3 separate regions of the Homo sapiens genome follow, and all the other regions are linked to region 1. Evidence: promoter capture Hi-C in human tissues and cell types (Jung and others, 2019). All regions are on one chromosome and are shown on one strand. Each heading gives the region's core, a stretch centred on a gene start or on the middle of the fragment in contact. The rest is flanking DNA. Distances are from core to core; before and after follow the strand shown.

Region 1 (4,887 bases), core at 1,074-3,573:
TAAGGATGCCTAGAGATGGGCCTGAATCACAGTGAAGCAAACAGCATTCACCTCAGCCTCACAAACATGGTTGTGGGTAGTGAAGTAATCAGCCTCGCACAGACCTGAAATACAAAACAAAAACACGGGACCCTGCTGACCACAGAACTCATCCCTCCGATTCCCCGCTAATTGTAGGTTGATAGAAACCAGTTGTAATGCAGAGTAAAAGGGCCTGTGCACAAATATATTTACTGAACGCAGAAAATGTCATTTATTTGTTTATTTATTTATTTATTTATTTGTTGAGATGGGGTCTTGGTCTGTTGCCCAGGCTGGAGTGCAGTGGCACGATCTGGGCTCACTGCCACCTCCGCCTCCCGGGTTCAAGCAATTCTCCTACCTCAGCCTCCCAAGTAGCTGGAATTACAGGCGCCCACCACCATGCCCGGCTAATTTTCATATTGTTAGTAGAGACGGGGTTTCACCATGTTGGCCAGGCTGATCTCGAACTCCTGATCTCAAGTGATCCGCCTGCCTCAGCCTCCCAAAGTGTTGGGATTACAGGCGTGAGCCACTGCGCCTGGCCTGAGCCACCGTGCCCGGGTGTTTAATAATACTTTTAATTCTTAAATGTTTGGAACAAAAAAAAGAAGAAAATGAGATTATATGATTCACATGGTACTGCTCTAGTCCTGCAGCAAATTCCAGTGCCTTCTCTGATCAGGGAATTTTTACAAAATCAAATGTGATTGATACATCTTCATCCACACTGACAGGCACCCACAGAACATCCACTGAGACCTAGACAGTAGTACTGACTGCAGGCCCTAACCCTGGGATACAACACGAACATGGTCTTGTCCTAAACAGCTGATAGGAGAAAGACAGTATTCACTGTGTTAATCTCAGTCCAAATTAATTGTCTTCATCTAGCTCCTGTCTTACATTCTTCATTGCTTGTCCCTAAATCCTAGCACGGCCAAGTCCTTTAGTTTTAAGCCTACATGAAAGGCATCCAGGGAGAGCCAGGTGGAAATGAAGGTGGTGGGGCTTGGCCTTTCTTCCCATTCCCACCTTGAGAATTTGCACCTTTCCTTCTCTGTCACCAACTAGCAGTTGCCATGGTATATAAGGGTATATCTTATTTTATCCTTAATATGTTTATTTCTGCTTCCAAGATGCTTCTGTTTTTACTAAAACCATAGAAGCTTCCCCTCCCACCACACTCGCACCACACACAAAAAGCAGTTGGAAAAACATTTCAATGATTCCTAACCACAACAGCACTTCTGACTAACTACAAAGAAGGAAGCTTTGGAGAAACATAGAGGGAAACTACAGTCCCAGCGAGACCGAAACCGGAGGGGTGAGATAGCCAGTCACAGTAAAAGCTGGAACCAGAGCCCAGACTTCCTCAACTCCAGCCCAGTCCTTTTGCCACTGGGGAAACGCTGTTTACATGTCCTCACCTGCGACGAACAACATTTGATAACTCACAAAATTAACACCTTTCAGGGAGAGCGGGGCACTGGCCAGGTCCCTCTGATAATGAATTGCTGCTCTAAGACATAACTGCTGTGGGGAGGAGGTTGGTGTTTGGCGGGGAAGGGCTGCTAGCCTGCAGTTTCATAAGGACAATAATACATCAAAAAGGACAATCATAGATCAAAGGGGATATTTTGGGTCAACTTGATATGTAGTGGAAAGCAGATTGGGAGGGGAGCCAAGTACTGGATATGCTCCGTGCGTGAGTGTGTCTGTGTGTGTGTGTGTGTGTGTGTGTAAATCATGTTGCTCTCTGGGTCTGTTTCCCAATCTGTAGAGTGTAAAAGTCTCTGAGGCTCCTTGCAGAGACAAGTGATGGAACGACCTTGACAGAAGAGAGCAGAGAGAGGAAAGAAGGGGGAGGAAGCCAAGCAAAGGAGAGAGAAATGGTGTGATGGGGGAGGAGACGCGGAGTTGGGTAGAAATGCCTTTTAATAAGATATTGGGAAAAAAGTATTAAACCTAAAACTGCAGCTCTTGAAGGATCATTTTTTCATCTTTGTGTTAGGATTTACAAGTACAGTGCATAGTAATTTTTGGATAATTGGAGTGAATGAATGAAAAGCGTGAAACGCCTTACAGGAGCGAGAAGATCCACGAGAGAAAGCGAGCAGGGACGCAGCTCTGGTGCCTGGTCCTGCCGGGTGGTCCCCACGCCGCCAGCCGCGCGTTCCCCAACCGGGCGCTCCCGGCGCCCTCTCGGTGAGCCGCCCTGAAACCGCCAGGGGGCGCTCCCCGGCTGCCGGGGCTGAGGCGGGCGGAGCTGCTTTAAATCGCGGCGCCCAGCGGTTCTGCGTCTCAGTTCCCGAGCCTGGGAGCAACCGCAGCTTCTAGTATCCAGACTCCAGCGCCGCCCCGGGCGCGGACCCCAACCCCGACCCAGAGCTTCTCCAGCGGCGGCGCAGCGAGCAGGGCTCCCCGCCTTAACTTCCTCCGCGGGGCCCAGCCACCTTCGGGAGTCCGGGTTGCCCACCTGCAAACTCTCCGCCTTCTGCACCTGCCACCCCTGAGCCAGCGCGGGCGCCCGAGCGAGTCATGGCCAACGCGGGGCTGCAGCTGTTGGGCTTCATTCTCGCCTTCCTGGGATGGATCGGCGCCATCGTCAGCACTGCCCTGCCCCAGTGGAGGATTTACTCCTATGCCGGCGACAACATCGTGACCGCCCAGGCCATGTACGAGGGGCTGTGGATGTCCTGCGTGTCGCAGAGCACCGGGCAGATCCAGTGCAAAGTCTTTGACTCCTTGCTGAATCTGAGCAGTGAGTGCACCCCCACCTCACAGCGGCCGTCCAGAGGCCCCAGTCCCCCTGCAGCTCCCTTATGGGCTCATTCTGTTGTGTGATTCCATGGTTATCAGTCTTCAGTTGATCAAGTCTTCTGATCATGTGCTCTGTCATAAGGAAATGAAGAGAATCCTGGTTTGAGGAAAGCGACGCCCAGGCATAAGCTCTAGTTTTGCCTCTAACTCCCTGGGTGACACTTCTGCCACTCTAGGTGTGGCTTCATCCTAAATTCCTATGCTGGTGGTTCGAGTTGAGGGAGTGAAGGCCAAACTTGAACTTGAGCTCTTAGACCTCTCCTAGGCATTCCGAGATTTGGGGTAAATTGAGGATTGGTAGAGTTCAGACAAGAAAATGGGATGACTGAAAAAGTTTGAAGCCTGGTAACTTCTCAAGTGTGCACGCTTAAATAAATAATCCTCAAGTATTAGATATAACTTTTTAACCTTTAATATGATTTTTTCATAGTAAAAGTTACATTCCTACTGGAAATGTCCTATCTAAGTGTCTTCTGCTTATGCTTGAGGTTGATTCTTTTAATTTATAAGATCCAGTTAGTGCAGGGAGGCCCCTTGCAAGACTCTTTGGAGAAGCTGCTTGAGATTCCCCCGAAGTTTTAATTTTCAGACCCAAGGTCTTCTGTAGAGGCTGACGGTGTAGTGCTATCTTGGAAAGAGAAGGTTGGTGGCAGGTGGGGAAAGGCTGACAAGAAAGGTTCTAAATAACCTGCGCAACATAATACAAAGAAAAAAGTAAAGGCACTGAAGGGAAATGCAGCAAAATAGTCATAGCTGATGAAATCAGAGGTCAGCTGGGAGTGGAAGGCAGTGAGAGAGAAAGAAGAGGTGGGTCTTCCTTAGGTTTCCATCTTCCACAAAGAAATTTCTGTGTAATGGATGTTCAGTGACCCCCTGTAAAACTGGAAAGGATTGTATAGAGAGACATATTTCTAAGGATGGTGGGAAGAAGGATAATAGGATAATTGTTTTACTTTGTTTTTTAAATTAAAGGTTTCGAGTTCCTTGTCCGAAAAGTCATTAAATTCCCATTTACTTAGATAATAATGATTCACGGCTGGAGTATCTTCCTTGAGAAATCACATTAATTGTCTTATATCATGTGTCTGTTATGCCCTTTAACTCACTTGAAGAAAAGATCCCTTAGTCTTTGCCTAGATGAACGTGACTGCCCACTGGCCCCCATTGCATGCTAAGGGTGAAAAGTGTTGGCATTGTTCAAGTTTACTTAACTTGTTTTGTCTACCTCCTATCAAGGGACAACTTTTAATAGTGTATATCAAAAGCCATATAGTTTAGAGTTATTAAACCTGTTCCAAATCTGTTTGAACACCTTGAATACCTGTGGCATTTGCTCAGTCAATGTGCATGGTTGTTTTGAGTGTTATTATTTCAGCTTTTGAAGGTTCTCATATCAGGACTTCTTTACACCAAAACCAATCCATAAGTTTAGTAATTATGTGTTGCTCATTGCCCTCAGGGGTTATATTTGTACTTATAAAATGAAAAATTTGGTAATAATTATTGAATTTCTCCATGGAAAGATAAATATATTTAAGGAAACGGTGTCAGGCATTTTAGGTACCACGTTAAGGAATTGGCAGGTGGAGGTTTCTAAGGACAATTCCAGAGAGGTCTCACTGTCAGTTTTATTCCTCTGATCAAAATAGTTCCTTTTCAACATCTTTAAATAGGTTTTCTTTTAACTTCCTGAAATGACCAAATGAAATCAGATTGATCTATGTTGTAAATACTCAAATGGATCATCCTTACACATGATAATGTGTTAAAATGTTTTACTTTCATTTTTTGGTTAATGTAGTTATTACAGTTTTTAAAACTAGGGTGAAAGGACTAAATACCTACCCCCCCACACACACTTTAGAGATGTCTTCCTATTTTTTTAAAACTCCAGATCAGAATCCACTTTTATTTTACTTAAAGCCATAGTTTATCCAAGGTGTGGCTTAGGCCTTTCTCTCAAAACCCATTCTCAGAAGAGGGACCCTTGACTCACAGGTGTTCTCCTCTCACCTGCCGTGACTCACGGGATGCTTTTGGATA
Region 2 (4,887 bases), core at 1,416-3,915, 1.1 Mb after region 1:
AAACTACAAATAAAATTCAAGTGTACATGACAAATTCACAAAGATATATCATAATGAGCTTCATAAAACAAATCCGAAAGTATCAGTAAGGAATAAAATTAAAGACAGTATGCTCTCTAAATTAGAATTAAGTATAATTAAGATATCTATAAAAACCTGAAATATTTGGAAATTAGCCAATACAACTTACAATGCATCCATGGGTCAAGAGGAAAATCACAAGAAAAATTTAAAAATATCTCTAAATGATAATAGACACACAACATATCAAAATCTCTGGGAAGCAGCAAAAGTAGTACTTAAAAGGAAATTTATAACTGTAGATGTTCATATTAGGAAAGTTTAAAATCAATAACCTTGGGCTGCACTTCAAGAAGTTAAAAAAAGAAAAAGTAAACCCAAAGTAGAAGAAAGGAAATAATAAGGAAAAGAGTAGAAATGAACCGGGCGCAGTGGCTCACACCTGTAATCCCAGTACTTTGAGAGGCCAAGGCAGGCGGATCACCTGAGGTCGAGAGTTCAAGACCAGCCTGACCAACATGGAGAAACTCCATCTCTACTAAAAATACAAAAAATTAGCTGGGCATGGTGGCACCTGCCTGTAATCTCAGCTACTTGGGAGGCTGAGGCAGGAGAATCGCTTGAACTCCGGAGGTGGAGGCTGCGGTGAGCCAAGATCATACCGTTGCACTCCAGCTTGGGCAACAAGAGTGAAACTGCCTCAACAACAAAAAAAGAGAGCAGAGATAGAGATCAACTAATTAGTAATTAGCAAAACAATAGTAAAAGTTAACCAAGTGAAAAGCATGATCTTGTTAAAAACCAACAGAATTGGTATGATCATCAACAGAAGAGAAAAAAGAGGGAAGACACAGATCACTGATATGGTTTGGATCTGTGTCCCCACCAATTCTCATCTTGAATTGTAATCCCCAGTGTTGGAGGTGGGGCCTGATGGAAGATGATTGGATCATGGGGGCCTATTTCTCAGGAATGGTTTAATGCCATCCTCTTGGTACTCTCCTCATGATAGTGAGTGAGTTCTTGTAAGATCTGGTCATTTAAAAGTGTGTAGCATCTCCCCACTTTCTCTCTTGCTCCTGCTCCTACCATGTGAGATGCCTTGTTCCCTTTTTCCTTCTGCCATGATTGGAAACTTCCTGAGGCCTCTCTAGAAACAGAAGTTTCTGTATAGTCTGCAGAACTCTGAACCAATTAAACCTCTTTTTTTTCTTCTTTTTTTGAGATGGAGTCTCATCTCTGTCACCCAGGCTGGAGTGCAGTGGCTCGATCTTGGCTCACTGAAATCTCCACCTCCCAGGTTCAAGCAATTCTCCTGTCTCAGCCTGGGATTACAGGCATGCACCATCATGCCTGGCTAATTTTTGTATTTTTAATAGAAACGGGGTTTCACCATGTTGGCTAGGGTGGTCTCGAACTCCTGACCTCAAGTGATCCATCCACCTTGGCCTCCCAAAGTGCTGGGATTACAGGTGTGAGCCATTGCACACGGCAAACCTCTTTTTTTAATAAATTACCCAGTCGCAGATATTTCTTTATAGCAATGAGAGAACAGAATAATACAGAAAATTGGTACCAGGAATAGGGCATTACTATAAAGATACCTAAAAATATGGAAGCAACTTTGAAATTGGGTAACAGGCAGAGGTTGAATGAGTTTAGAGGGTTCAGAAGAAGACAGGAGGATGAGGAAACGTTTGGAACTTTCTAGAGACTGGCTGAGTGGTTATCACCAAAATGCTGATAGTGATATAGACAGTGAAAGCCAGGCTAATTAAGTCTCAAATGTAAATGAGAAACTTATTTGGAACTGGAGCAAAGGTCACTTTTGTTATGCCTTAGCAAGGAACTTGGCTGCACTGTGCCTCTGCCCTAGGTATCTGTGGAAGTTTCAACTTGAGAGTGATGATTTAGGATTATCTAGTGGAAGAAATTTCTAAGCATCAACACATTCAAGATGTGACCTGGCTGCTTCTAAGAACCTATACTCATACATATGAGCAAAGAAATGACTTAAAGTTGGACTCATGTTTAAAGAAGAAACAGCATAAAAGTTGGAAAATTTGAAGACTGGCCATATGGTAGGAAAAAAAAAAGCCAATTTTCAGGGGAAGAATTCAGGTAGGCTTCAGAAGTTTGCATATATAAAAAGGAGCAAATGCTCATAGCCAGGACAATAGGGAAAACAACTCACAGGCATTTTAGAGACCTCCTTGGGGGGTCCTCCCATCACAGGTCCTGAGGCCTAGGAGGACTAAACCCCCAGTGTTAGAAGTGGGGCCTAATGGGAGGTGATTGGATTATGAGGGCAGATTTAGCAGGAATGGGTATCATCCTCTTTGTATTGTCCTCACAATAGTGAGATCTGGTCACTTAGAAGTATGTAGCACCTACCCCTCTCTCTCTTGCTCCTGCTCCCACTATGCAAGATGCCTCACTCCCCCTTTGTTTTCTGCCATGATTAGAAATTTCCTAAGGCCTCCACAGAAGTGGAATCCATTATGCTTCCTGTATAACCTGCAGAACTATAAGCCAATTAAACTTATTTTCTTTATAAATCACCTGGTCTTAAATATTTCTTTATACCAATGAGAGAATAAATAAAATCACCAATATGAGGAAAGAAAGAAGATATCACTAAATATCTTATGGACATTAAAGGGATTATAAGGAAATATTATTAACAACTTTATGCCTTCAGCTGCAACAACTTAAATAAACAACAAATTCCTTTAAAAATATAATTTATCAAAATTAATATGAAATAAAAAAATTAGTCCTCTTAGGCCTCAGGACCTGTGATGGGAGGGCCTCCTGAGGAGAAAAAATTATGATAAACACAATATTTATAAAAGAAATTAACTTTATTATGAGAATTTCCCACCAAGAAATGATCAGGCCAAGATTTCCCTTATTAACTCTATCAAACAGTCAATGAAAAGATAACTCCACTCATATAAAAAATCTTTTAAAAAATAAAAGAGGAGGGAACATTTTCCAACTTGTTTTATGATGGCAGCATAGCCAAAATATGAAAACCTAGCAAAAACATTTTAAAAAATGAAAATAACAGACTAATACCCCTCATGAACACAGGCACAAAAATTATCCATAAAATATTAGCAAACTAAATCCACTAATGCATAAAAAGAATAATATGTCACAACCAAACATGTTTACCTTAGGAATGAAGAACTGACTTAATATTTGAAAATCTTAATAAAAATAAGACTTTCAAACATTAGACAAGCTGATTAAAAAATAAATATGCATAAATAAAAAACGATTAATAAATGGGGAATAACTCAACCAGATATTGACACATAATATAAGGTTATAATAATTAAAACCATTTTGAGCTTTAAGAGACACAAATGGAATGGAATAGAAAATCCAGGTACAGAAACACACAGAGAAAAGTACTACATTATAAAATAATAAACATAAAATATCAAATATATGATATCGAGAAATCTAGCCTGCCATCTGGATAAAAATTCAAGTTGATTGCATACCTTCTTCTTTACTCAAGGCAAATTTTAGATGAAATATAAGTTCGTTGTTAACAGTAAAATAAAATTACTAGACAAAAACTTGGAAATTTACTTTATAATTATAGTATGGAGAAAGCTTTTCTCAAAAAGACATAAATTTAGAAGCCTTGAAAGAATGAGAAATTTGATACCTGTATTAGTTTGTTTCACACTGCTGATAAAGACATACCCCAAACAGGGAACAAAAAGAGGTTTAATTGGACTTACAGTTTCACATGGATGGGAAGACCTCAGAATCATGGCAGGAAGCAAAAGGCACTTCTTACATGGTGGCAGCAAGAGAAAATGAGCAAGAAGCAAAAGCAGAACCCCGTAATAAACTCATCAAATCTCATGAGACTTATTCATTATCACAAGAATAGCACTGGAAAGACCAGCCCCCATGATTCAATTACCTCTCCATGGGTCCCTCCCACAACATGTGGAAATTCTGGGAGATAGAGTCCAGGTTGATATTTTGGTGGGGACACAACCAAACCATATCAATACCCCAAAACTAAAGGTCATGAAAAATAGCATAATAATGTTAAAAGAGATATGACAAACTGGGAAAAATTTATTTGCAACATATAGGACAGAAAAGGAATTCAGTTCTCTAATACACAAATAGCTCTTACAAATCAATAAGAAAAAAATTAAACATCCCAACAGGAAAAAAAAAATGGGCTATAGTCATAAATAGGCAGTTCACAGAAAAATAAATAATATGGCTTTCTAACCCAAGGATAAAAACACATATCGTTCTTCAAATTCTAGTGATGCAATTTGAACCCCAAATAAGAGACTTTTCTTTACTATCTCACTGGCAATGTAAAAAGGTTTTGTAATACTTGATATTGGTGTGGGTGTGTGGAAAAGATTACCCTGATACTTTGTGAAAGTATTAATTGGTAGCACCTGTTTGGAAGGCAATTTGACAATACTCATCGGTTAAAATTTACATGACTTTGACCTAAAAATTCCACTTCTAGAAATCCATTAATACATTAAAGGAACAATTACATGTTTGTGCAAAGTCTTGTAAGCAAGGATATTTGTAGCAGCACTTTGTAGTAGCAACGGTAAAAATAGATATACATCAATGAGGGACTGGCTAAATAGATTAAGCTTAAGAGGTAATATTCTGCACTATTAAAAAACACTGAGATTGATCTATAGATGATTATATAAACCTCCAAGTTATATCACTGGTAGATATTATAGCATGAGGCAGGACAGTTTATGACATGTGCTTTCATTAGGTAAAATAATATGTAATAAATATGTGTGTAGATATGTACTTTTAAACGTGTATAGGCATATGTACACAGAG
Region 3 (4,887 bases), core at 756-3,255, 1.1 Mb after region 1:
ACCTTCTTCCTAAGACCTTCCCATATCTCCCAGTAGCAATTCTTTCTCCCTCTCCTGTGCCCATGACACTGTTGGTTTTCTGCTGGAGCCCTAACCAAAGCCTGCTTTGGGCTAAAGCATGTGTGTGCATACGTTTGCATCGCATTGAGACTGTGAACATCTTGGTGGCAGAGGCTATGTCTTGCCACTCTGTCGTACACAATGGCTGCCACATGGCCAAGCCTAGGAAGGACTTTCTGAATGTAATCAAATTACTGCTTAGAAAGAACATACAGTTAAAAGAGCTGCCTTCTGTTTGCAAAATGCTGCTGGGAGGGCAGATTATTAAGTCAATGGCTTTTTTCTTTTTTTTTTTTTAAGCAAAGACCACAAACCACCTCTGAAGCCAAGAAAAAGACGTGATTAGAGGGAAACACATCAGTACCTTTAATCCTCCACTGACTTTGGAAAAACAACAAAATGCCAGCTTCCACCAGATCATTTCTTCTTAATTAAAAGTTAGCCAGATTCTTTTGGAGCACTCAATTTTCTGGTCAGGTCAACAAAAAAGTAATGAACATCACACACACCTCCCTCCCCTGTCTTCCTAGCCCCATTCCTGGAGTTATGCAACCCTTGGGGGCGGCATACACTTCAGCTATTTGCTCTGTGTTCATAATTAGATTGTCTAGACAGGAGATGTTGCTGGAGCAATAGGAAAATATTTTACAAGATGTTCCGCAGAACCACACTTATAACAGTGATTAGGACACACTGACAGACGCGAAGCCAGCAGAATTGGCCCGGGCCACGAGCCGGTTTCACCCAGAGCAGAAGCCCTTTCAAGCTCTCATTTCAGGAAGAGGTGCCAAATTAGAGCTCTGAGGGCATGGAGCAGCAACTTCTTGGCCTTTGGATCCGAGAAAGCAAGGTTGAGATAATAGAATGATGTCTGCGATGCCCTCCTTCCTCCCTCCACCTGCTGACACTAAGTCAACAGGAGGCAGATGGTAGTTGCTGCTTTCACCAGCATCTCTCCAAAAGGATGTGTAAAGGCCAAAGAAAGCAGTTTCCTGGACCTGGCTTCTGCAGCATGGCCTATCCCTTCTATGTTGCAGAATGCAAATTTAAATAGCATGGAGAGATACATGTGCGATGCCTTCTCTTGCAGGGAGATATTTCTTGGCCTGACCTCCCTGCTTAGCTTTTGTTGGCATATCAATGTGACAGCAACAATATTTTCCAGCAGAAAACCTCTTTAGAGATATTTTTTCACAGGAGGAATTGATAAGGTAAAATCATTTAGCCCTCTAAGATGAATGGCTTTTGGAAAATTGCTACACTAATATAGTACTACAAGGGTATAGGATTCAATACAAAGAAAAATTAGAGATTTTAGAAATTTAGCAAGAGGAGATTCAGCAAGGGGAGGGGACTTATATCAGGAAAATGTATCAGGACCCAGGTCCCTGAATCCTAAACCAAGGTCTTTCTACCAAAACTATTAAAGATGCTTGCGTAATTCAAATGCTTACTATATACCAAATGTTCTTCTAAGCATTTTACCCATATTATCTCATGGAACCCTCAACACAGACCAATAAGAGAGATACTATTATCCAACCCTCCCCTCCTCCCTCCAGTTTACAAATGGGAAGACCGACGCATGGATTGTTAAGTAACTTGCTCCAGGTCACCCAGAGGGAAATCTGGATTGACTCCCTGTCAGCCCGACTTCAGAACAAGGTCTTTAAGCCTTAAACTGTCTATATTCTATCTCCTCATTAGAGTTCAGATGAGAATATGGGGAAAGAAATGGGGCTTAGTGACCATCAAAAATTACAATGCATTTGAGAACAAGTAAGAATTAGGCACATGACAAAGGCAGAGGAGGAGGTGAAATCAGAGAATTTCATGTTTCAGATGCTACCATCATCTGTTTCCACGATTGCATACAAGTCACTCAACCACTCAGAATTGCAGTTCCTTCACTGTTGTTTCTTATGGGCATAAAAAACAAATAGGCCAGACATGGTGGTTTGCACCTATAATCCCAGCAGTCTGGGAGGCCCAGGCGGGTGGATCACTTGAGATCAGGAGTTTGAGACCAGCCTGGCCAACGTGCTGAAACCCCGTCTCTACCAAAAATACAAAAAATTATCAGGGTGTGGTGGCAGACACCTGTAATCCCAGCTACTTGGGAGGCTGAGGCAGGAGAGTCACTTGAACCCAGGAGGTGGGGGTTGGTTGCAGTGAGCCGAGATCACACTACTGCATTCCAGCCTGGGCAACAGAGCAAGACTTCGTAAAAAAAAAAAAAAAAAAAAAAAGGGATTCCTGGGCAAGATGGCTGAACAGGAATAGCTCCAGCCTGCAGCTCCCAGCAAGATCAACACAGAAGGGGTGATTTCTGCATTTCCAACTGAGGTACCCAGTTCATCTCATTGGGACTGATTAGACAGTGGGTACAGCCCACAGAGGGCAAGCAGAAGCAGGGTGGGGTGTCGCCTCACCTGGGAAGCCCAAGGGGTCAGGGAACTCCCTCCCCTAGCCAAGGGAAGCCATGAAGGACTGTGCCATGAGGGATGGTGCATTCTGGCCTAGACACTACGCTTTCCCCACGATCTTCACAACCCACAGACCAGGAGATTCTCTCAGGTGCCTACACCACCAGAGCCCTGGGTTTCAAGCACAAAACTGGGAGGCCATCTGGGCAGACACCAAGCTAGCTGCAGGAGTTTTTTTCATACCCCATTGGTCCCTGGAACACAGCAAGACAGAACTGTTCACTCTAGAAAGAGGGCTGAAGCCAGGGAGCCAAGTGGTCTTCCTCAGTGGATCCCACCCGCATGGAGCCCAGCAAGCTAAGATCCACTGGCTTGAAATTCTCGCTGCCAACACAGCAGTCTGAAGTCGACCTGGGACACTGAGCTTGGTTGGGGGAGGGGCGTCCACCATTACTAAGGCTTGAGTAGGCAGTTTTCCCCTCACAGTGTAAACAAAGCCACTGGGAAGTTCGGACTGGATGGAGCCCACTGCAGCGCCGCAAAACTGCTGTAGCCAGACTGCCTCTCTAGATTCCTCCTCTCTGGGCAGGGCATCTCCGAAAGAAAGGCAGCAGCCCCAATCAGGGGCTTATAGATAAATCTTTCATCTGCCTGGGACAGAGCACCTGGGGGAAGGGGCGGCTGTGGGCACAGTTTCAGCAGACTTGAACATTCCTGCCTGCCAGCTCTGACGAGAGCAGCATATCTCCCAGCACAGTGCTTGAGCTCTGCCAAGGGACACACTGCCTCCTCAAGTCAGTCCCTGACCCCCATGCCTCCTGATGGGGAGACACGTCCAGCAGGGGTCAACAGACACCTCAAACACAAGAGCTCTGGCTAGCATCTGGTTGGTGCCTCTCTGGGACAAAGCTTCCAGAGGAAGGAGCAGGCAGCAATCTTAGCTGTTCTGCACCCTCTGCTGGTGATACCCAGGCAAACAGGGTCTGGAGTGGACCCCCAGCAAACTCCAGGAGACTTGCAGAAGAGGGGCCTGACTTAGAAGGAAAACTAACAAACAGGAAAGAGTAACATCAATATAAAAAAAAAAAGGATGACCACACAAAAACTCCATCTGAAGGTCACCAACAGCAAAGACCAAAGGTAAATAAATCCATGAAGATGAGGAAAAACCAGCACAAAAAGGCTGAAAATTTCAAAAACCAGAATGCCTCTTCTCCTCCAAAGGATCACAACTCCTCAACAGCGAGGGAACAAAACTGGACTGAGAATGAGTTTGACTAATTGACAGAAGTAGGCTTCAGAAGGTAGGCAATAACAAACTCCTCCGAGCTAAAGGAGCATGTTCTAACCCAATGCAAAGAAGCTAAGAACCTTGATAAAAGGCTACAGGAACTGCTAACTAGACTAACCAGTTTATAGAATATAAATGACCTGATGGAGCTGAGAAACATAGCACGAGAACCTTGTGAAGCATACACAAGTATCAATAGCCAAATTGAGCAGAAGAAAGGATATCAGAGATTGAAGATCAACTTAATGAAATAAAGTGTAAAGACAAGATTAGAGAAAAAAGGATGAAAAGAAATGAACAAAGCCTCCAAGAAATATGGGACTATGTGAAAAGACCAAATCTACATTTGATTGGTATACATGAAAGTGACAGGAATAATGAAACTAAGTTGAAAAACATACTTCAGGATATTATCCTAAAGAACTTCCCCAACCTAGCAAGACAGGCCAACAGTCAAATTCAGGAAATACAGAGAACACCACAGAGATACTCCTCGAGAAGCGCAACCCCAACACACATAATCATCAGATTCACCAAGGTTGAAATGAAGGAAAAATTGTTAAGGGCAGACAGAGAGAAAGGTCAGATTACCCACAAAGGGAAGCCCATCAGACTAACAGCGGCTCTCTCTGCAGAGACCCTACAAGCCAGAAGAGAGTGGGGACCAACATTCAACATTCTTAAAGAAAAGAATTTTCAACCCAGAATTTCATATCCAGCCAAACTAAGCTTCTTAAGTAAAGGAGAAATAAAATCCTTTACAGACAAGCAAATGCTGAGAGATTTTGTCACCACTAGAACTGCCTTACAAGAGCTCCTGAAGGAAGCACTAAATATGGAAAGGAAAAACTGGTAGCAGCTACTGCAAAACCAAACCAAAATGTAAAGACCATTGACACTATGAAGAAACTGCATCAACTAATGGGCAAAATAACCAGCTAGCATTATAATGACAGGATCAAATTCACACATAACAATATTAACCTTAAATGTAAAAAGTCTAAATTCTCCAATTAAAAGTCACAGATTGGCAAATTAGATAAAGATTCAAGACCCATCAGTATGCTGTATTCAGGACACCCATCTCACTTGCAAAGACACACATAGGCT

What was found. Contacts are between HindIII fragments. The study calls those that stand out against the background at their distance.
Region 2: a contact is called between a fragment that was not itself captured here and the fragment with the promoter of CLDN1 in region 1, in 1 of the 25 tissues and cell types used here (thymus).
Region 3: a contact is called between a fragment that was not itself captured here and the fragment with the promoter of CLDN1 in region 1, in 1 of the 25 tissues and cell types used here (mesenchymal stem cells).

Annotation. Positions count from the first base shown.
Region 1 is chr3:190,319,882-190,324,768 of GRCh38, reverse strand. It overlaps CLDN1 (claudin 1), which reads left to right and starts at 2,323. Exons shown (of 4, transcript NM_021101.5): 1 at 2,323-2,785. The coding sequence starts at 2,563. It also overlaps a transcript of CLDN16 not described here. RefSeq lists a silencer at 2,173-2,332. The HindIII fragment of the contact is 5,719 bases long and covers 441-4,887 here.
Region 2 is chr3:189,240,776-189,245,662 of GRCh38, reverse strand. The region is part of intron 4 of TPRG1 (tumor protein p63 regulated 1); the gene reads right to left. Among named protein-coding and RNA genes, the nearest start is that of TPRG1-AS2, 2.6 kb to the right of the region's middle. The HindIII fragment of the contact is 3,005 bases long and covers 1,163-4,167 here.
Region 3 is chr3:189,256,885-189,261,771 of GRCh38, reverse strand. The region is part of intron 4 of TPRG1 (tumor protein p63 regulated 1); the gene reads right to left. Among named protein-coding and RNA genes, the nearest start is that of TPRG1-AS2, 19 kb to the right of the region's middle. The HindIII fragment of the contact is 8,541 bases long and covers 1-4,887 here.